Linked DNA regions of Homo sapiens: region 2 is linked to region 1. Evidence: promoter capture Hi-C in 16 types of primary human blood cells and fetal thymus (Javierre and others, 2016). All regions are on one chromosome and are shown on one strand. Each heading gives the region's core, a stretch centred on a gene start or on the middle of the fragment in contact. The rest is flanking DNA. Distances are from core to core; before and after follow the strand shown.

Region 1 (3,540 bases), core at 771-3,270:
ACTCCGTTTTTTTTGGTTTTTTTTTGAGATGGAGTCTCACTCTGTTGCTCAGGCTGGAGTGCAGTGGTGAGATCTTGGCTCACCGCAACCTCTGCCTCCCAGGTTCAAGCAACTCTCTGCCTCAGCCTTCCGAGTAGCTGGGATCACAGGCACCCAACATCACGCCCAGCTAATTTTTGTATTTTTAGTAGAGACAGGGTTTCACCATCTTGGCCAGGCTGGTCTTGAACTCCTGACCTCGTGATCCACCCACCTCGGCCTCCCAAAGTACTGGGATTACAGGCGTGAGCCCCTGTGCCTGGCCATAAAAGAACTTCTAAAGAGCAGCTGTAGTGAATTTACGACCAAGACTTTTCCATAGAAAATAACTGATAAGGTGAAAAAAAAAAAAAGCTTGTCAGAAAGCTGACAAGAAAGCTAAAAATTACCATTCTTTTCTCAGAAATCTAACAGATCCCAGAGGATTGCTACTTGGAGTTCTTCCTCAGTTTTATTAGTGCTAAACATCTGATTGGCCAGGGATGACCAAACTAAACTCCTACTGAATCCATGAAGGAAGTCAGAAAATAAAGGGTGGGGAAAACTAATCTTGGTTAATACTCAAAAGGCTTATTTTTACATTTCCTGCACCTTTGAAATGCCTTGGTGACTTACAAACCTAATCTAGGACCAAGAATGAACTTTACTGGAGAGATACAGGCCTTGAGAGGTTAAGGACTTGACTAGTGGTATCACATTAACAACTGGAAATGAGATGCTGGCATTTCCCTTTCCAGCATATACTGCCTGATAAATGATTTCTTTCCCCCGACTCCAGCTTTAAGGTGTAAGTGACAAATAGAAATTGTTCATGTTTATGGTATACAACGTGACGTTTTGATATACATATATATACACACACACACTGCAAATAATTAAATGAAGCTAATCAACATAATCCATCATCTCACATACTTTCCTGTGGTGAGAACATTTAAGGTGTACCCTCTTCACAATTTCAAGTACACAATATATGATTATTAACTATAGAACTCATCCACCTTCTCTGACTGAAACTTTGTATCATTTGACCAACATTTCCCTATATTCCCCACCCCCGTGCCAAGACTTCTTACTTGCCTTTCTTGAACAAATACTTGAATTACAGTGTTATTACGAAGCTGCAAAGTTGCTCCTCAAGCAACTTATTGAAGGGAAGCAAGAAGCGTCGAAAAAGAAAGCGCTTTTTTTTTTTTTTTTTTTTTCGGATAGGGTTTGGCTGTTGCCCAGGCTGGAGTGCAATAGCACGATCTGGGCTCAAAGAAAACACTTATTTTTCACAAACAACAGAAAAAGCAGTGAATATTTTGAAGTCTGGATCCTGAACTCTAGGTTATTTAGGTCTGAAACCTGTACTAGGGGGAGGGGTGCAAGAAAGAGTTGATAAAATTACCTTAACCATGTGGAAACTTTAAGACTTTCTTACATACTAACCCCTCGCCCCCCACTTTTCTCAATAAACGAGCCAAACTGGCTGAAACGAAGGGACTCGTCCGCGGCGCCGGCTCAGACCCACTGTAGCCGACTCATTACCGCCCAAAGTCCTGGAGCCCTCGACCGGGCATGGAGAACACCGTGGAGGAACCCTAAGAGAGGGAATCCTGCGAAGAGAAGTCAGGTGGTGGCCTTGCCGGAAACGGGACCAAAGTCCTCTAGCTGGGATTACGGGAGCCGGCGAGGGACCTATTATGTCAGGGTTCAGACAACCCAGCTCTGCATGCAAGCCTTTCCAATTGCCAGTCTTGGGGCGGGCTCACATCTTCTCTACAAGGCGAACTCACTACACGCCTTGGGTGCCTATCGTCCCTAGCAACCACCCGCGATTTAAGGCGGAAGTACCTCCCTGGTCCTCCTCCTCCTCCGGACCAACCAAGCCCTCGTGAGGAAGCGCGTTGGCCCAATCACCTAGGCGGGAACTACTACCAGCCAATAGGAAGCAGGCACAGGAGGGCGGGCTAAAGAGGTCGCGGTCGCACGCGCAGTTGGTCCTTAGTACTGCGGCCGTGTGGGTGAGTTGGCTGCCGGTGAGTTGGGTGCCGGTGGAGTCGTGTTGGTCCTCAGAATCCCCGCGTAGCCGCTGCCTCCTCCTACCCTCGCCATGTTTCTTACCCGGTCTGAGTACGACAGGTCCGTGCAGCTGGGGGACGTCGGGTGGGAATTATGGGTGGGCAGGCCCGGGACCTGGCCGCGCGGCCTGGGTTCTGCCGTGTCATGGGGCTCCCCAGGAACCCGAGACTGGCCGGACCTGGGGATGTTATGCCCTCCTCAGGCGCCCGCCGTCCTTCCCCAAGCTAGACCACATCGGCGGCACTTGTCCTACCGCTGAGTCACCCCTGGGTCCTAACTCGGTGCGGAAGCGAGAAGCTCCGGCTGGTGCTTGGTAAAGAAGGCGTGAGGAGCCGGAACTCCTACCTTGAACCCGGAGAAGGCCAAGGGTCACTCTTTGCTCCGTTCATCTTTTCGTGCCTAGTATGACTGCCTTGAACAAACAAACAAAAAGTTAAACGTGCTTCCTGGAAGAAAAAGCAACTGGTTTGTAGTAGGGCATGCTGCGGTGTATAGTTTCTTCAGAAGCGCGAAGGCAGTCGTAGCTTTGGCTGGATATATTGTCTGGAGTCTGATTTTATAGGAACTGGAATTTAGAATGGTTTTCAAGAGATTTCTCATCATGCCGATTCCAATTGACCAAAATTTTTTCTGACTTTTTAAAAGTTTAAAGCAAGTTTTAAAAAACTTTTGTGGTATGAAAATGTTCACAATATTAAGTTGTACATATATATGCTGTAGACATTTTTACTTTCAGTTTCTGTTTTCGTCAGTTAAGTTTTTACATAGCTACTCTTTTTTAAAGTCAGGGAAGGCAGACATTTTCTTTGTACTGAGTGGTATGAGATGCTGCATTTCCTGTCAAGTATATGCTGATCCTGTCGAAGTTTTACCACCTGCAGTTACCACTTTTTCATCTTTTTTACTGACTCGTAGAAGATGTGTGTGAAGTTTTGACATATTTCCCCACTGTCCTATAAAGTGACTTTGTTGGTCGATATTTAACTTCCAGAACATTGAAGAGAATCATCTTCGGGTGACATAATTTTGAGTTAGGGTGTGTATGATAGAAATTGTTATGCTTATCAGAAGGCATTTATTAAATTTTGTGGCCATTTACTTAACATATGTATTGACTGCTTTGTTACTTATTTTTCTGTCTTCCCAAGACGGCCTAAAATACATCCCTTTTTATTCTCTTAGTTAATGTGCTTGAGTGCTTGCTGTGAACAAGGCACTGTTCTAGGTGCTGGTGCTACAGCAATGGACAAAATCAAGCTCCTTGCTCGCATATAGGAGACTCTTTTGAGACAGTCTCGCTCTGTGGCCCAGGCTGGAGTGCAGTGACGTGATCTTGGCTCACTGCAACCTCCCCCTCCTGGGTTTTGTTTGTTTTTGAGACGGAGTCTCGCTCTGTCGCCAGGCTGCAGTGCAGTGGCATGATCTCGGCTCACT
Region 2 (3,540 bases), core at 438-2,937, 210 kb after region 1:
AAAGAAGCCATGCCGGGCGCGGTGGCTCATGCCTGTAATCCCAGCATTTTGGGAGGCCAAGGCGGGTGGATCACAAGGTCAGGAGATCAAGACCATCCTGGCTAACATGGTGAAACCCCAGCTCTAATAAAATACAAAAAAAATTAGCCAGGCATGGTGGTGGGTGCCTGTCATCCCAGCTACTCGGGAGGCTGAGGCAGGAGAATGGTGTGAGCCCGGGAGGCGGAGGTTGCAGTGAGCTGAGATCACGCCACTGCACACCAGCCTGGGTGACTGAGCAAGAATCTGTCTCAAAAAAAAAAAAGAAAGAAGCCATATGCAAAAGTATATACTACATAAGTCCATTTATATGTAGTTCAAAATCAGGCAAAGGAATTTATGGTGATGGAGGTAAGAATACTATTATTTTTGGAGGAGGGGCTGACTGGGAGGTGGCATAAGGCAATCTGCTGGTGTGCTGTAAATGTCATATATATATATATATATAGTGTGTATATAAATATATAGTGTATATATATACTGTATATGTACACTATATATATATATATATATATATATATGGAGAGTCTTGCTCTATCGCCCAGGCTGGACTGCAGTGGTGTGATCTCGGCTCACTGCAAGCTCCGCCTCCTGGGTTCATGCCATTCTCCTGCCTCAGCCTCCCAAGTAGCTGGGACTACAGGCGCCCGCCACCACACCCGGCTAATTTTTTGAATTTTTAGTGGAGATGGGGTTTCACCGTGTTAGCCAGGATGGTCTCGATCTCCTGACCTCATGATCCGCCCGCCTCGGCCTCCCAAAGTGCTGGGATTACAGGTGTGAGCCACCACGCCCGGCCTAAATGTCTTATATTTTGATCTAAGTGTTACATTGGTGTATATATTTAGAAAACTCATCAACCTGTACACTAAGATTTGTGTACTTTACTGTATCTATGTCAATAAAAATAAGTTTTTGAAGGGTATATACAGGAATAGTATAAATGCTGTAAGAGATTTGTAAGATAATATAAGGAGAGCACTCAATAAATGAGGTGGCACTACAACAGTAGTTGAGTGCCAAAGAGGGCCGTTGGAAGTGGGAGTGGCACACCCTGATAAGGAGCATTCCAGGAAGAGGCAACAGTCACAGAAGTGTGAAAGAGTCTAGGAGTAGCAATAAGCTAGAGCAAAGAGCGGGAGGCCCTATGTGGGAAGTGGTAGACAGCGAGGCCAGGAAGGCATGGGGGACTTTGTAAATTGTGTTCAGGAATTTGGATTTTTATGCTTTAAGGCTGTACTGTCCAATATAGTAGCTTTTAATACCATGTGACTATGAGCATTTGAAATTTGAAATGAGCACCTGAACAGAGTGGTGCTTTAAGTGTAAAACATACTTTGGAGTTTGAGGACTTGTACCAAAAAAAAAAAAAAAAAAGTAAAATATCTCAGTAGTTTCAGTAATTTTTTTTTTTTTTCAGATGAAGTCTCACCTTGTCCCCCAGGCTGGAGTGCAATGGCACGATCTCAGCTCACTGCAACCTCCGCTTCCCGGGTTCAAGCAATTCTCCTGCCTCGGCCTCCCAAGTAGCTGGGATTACAGGCGCCCGCCACCACGCCTGGCTAATTTTTTTTTTTTTTTTTTTTTTTTGGAGACAGAGTCTCTCTGTGTCACCCAGGCTGGAGTGCAGTGGCATGATCTCAGCTCACTGCAAGCTCTGCCTCCCGGGTTCACGCCATTCTCCTGCCTCAGCCACCCGAGTAGCTGGGACTACAGGCGCCCCCCACCATGCCCGGCTAATTATTTTTGTATTTTTAGTAGAGATGGGGTTTCACCGTGTTAGCCAGGATGGTCTCGATCTCCTGACCTTGTGATCTGCCTGCCTCGGCCTCCCAAAGTGCTGGGATTACAGGAGTGAGTCACCGCACCGGGCTAGTTTCAGTAATTTAAAAATACTGATTATGTGTTGAAAATATAATTTCGGGGCTGGGCGTGGTGGTTCACACCTGTAATCCCAGCAGTGTGGGAGGTCGAAGTGGGAGGATCACTTGAGTCCAGGAATTCGAGACCAGCCTGGGCAACAAAGTGAGACTCTGTCTCTACAAAAAATTAAAAATTAGCTGGGCATGGTGGTGCACACCTGTGGTCCCAGCTACTTAGAAGGTTGAGGTGGGAGGACCAGTTGAGCCCAGGAGGTCCAGGCTGCAGTGAGCTGTGATCATGCCACTGCATTCCAGCCTAGGCAACAGAACAAGACGCTGTCTAAAAATAATAATAATAATTATATATATATTTATATATATATAACTTTTGGGTATACAAGACTAGGTTAAATAAAATGTATTACTAAAATTAATTTCATCTGTTTCTCTTTATATTTTTTATATTGGATACAAACAAATTAACAATTACAGACTATCGCCAACTTATAATGCTTAAACTTTATGATCAATAGTAATAAATTACATGAGATATTCACACTTTATTATAAAATAGGGTTTGTGTAAGATGATTTTTCCCAACTGTAGGTTAACATCAGTGTTCTGAGCACATTTAAGGTAGGCTTGGCTAAGCTATGATATTCAGTAGGGTATGTGTATTTCATGCATTTTTTACTTACAATATTTTCAACTTATGGTGGATTTATTGGGACATAAACCCATCCTAAGTCAAGGAGCATCTGTATACATGAAGCTAACATTCTATTCCTATCAGACAGTGCTGCTCTAAAGTATGTCACTGCAAAACTTAAGCCTTCAAGTAAAATGATCAGATTTGCATTCTAGAAAGATTATATGCCCTGGTGAGACTGGGTTAAGATTGAAAGCAGATAGAAAGCTATTCCAGTTGCTGGGGCAAACAATGATAAGGACCTGTTTTAAAACATGTGCAGTAAAGGTTATGAGGAAATAACAGCTTTAGCCTGGGCATGGTGACTCATGCCTGTAATCCCAACACTTTGGGAGGCCGAGGTGGGAGGATCGCTTGAGGCCAGGAGTTTGAGGCCAGCCTAGGCAACATGACGAAACTCCATCTCTACAAAAAATACACACATTAGCCAGGCATGGTGGCATTGCGCCTGTAGTCTCAGCTAGTCAGAAGTCTAAGGCAGGAGGATCATCTGAGCCTGGGGAGATTGAGGCTGCAGTGAGCTGTGATCATGCCTGGGTGACACAGTGAGACCTTGTCTCAAATTAAAAAAAAAGGAAACAACAACTTCAATTTTCAATGTACAGTAAAAAGAAAAAAAAAACCACTCAGGATAGCACTTTTTGAGGGAGGATAAAATTCTTGGGGTTTGCAGCAGATTTCCAGTTACATGGAAATCTATTTGCTTTGGGAGTGGGGCCAAGACAAATATGCCCAAGTGTAGGATCATTACGCTACTCTGAATTAAAAAGAAGAAATCACATTCAAATCCCTGGAGTTAGAAGAGTTGTGAGTTCCAATGTGGTATTATCACTCCAAGTTATACTGGACTCCTGAGTTCTCCAAAGGAACCCTAGTGGTACCTTGTAAGTCTACAGGAAGACAAATTGGTATAGTTGTAGTGGAGGGCTT

What was found. The method cuts DNA at HindIII sites, captures the fragments that hold promoters and counts their contacts. A CHiCAGO score of 5 or more calls a contact.
Region 2: a fragment that was not itself captured here is called in contact with the fragment with the promoter of PSMA5 in region 1 in 2 of 17 cell types (fetal thymus and neutrophils); the score reaches 5.9 in fetal thymus.

The regions. Positions count from the first base shown.
Region 1 is chr1:109,424,928-109,428,467 of GRCh38, reverse strand. PSMA5 (proteasome 20S subunit alpha 5) reads left to right here and starts at 2,020. Exons shown (of 9, transcript NM_002790.4): 1 at 2,020-2,166. The coding sequence starts at 2,138. RefSeq lists enhancers at 1,460-1,519, 1,026-1,957. The HindIII fragment of the contact is 5,034 bases long and covers 396-3,540 here.
Region 2 is chr1:109,216,283-109,219,822 of GRCh38, reverse strand. The region is part of intron 1 of SARS1 (seryl-tRNA synthetase 1); the gene reads right to left. Among named protein-coding and RNA genes, the nearest start is that of SARS1, 4.1 kb to the right of the region's middle. The HindIII fragment of the contact is 3,724 bases long and covers 1-3,540 here.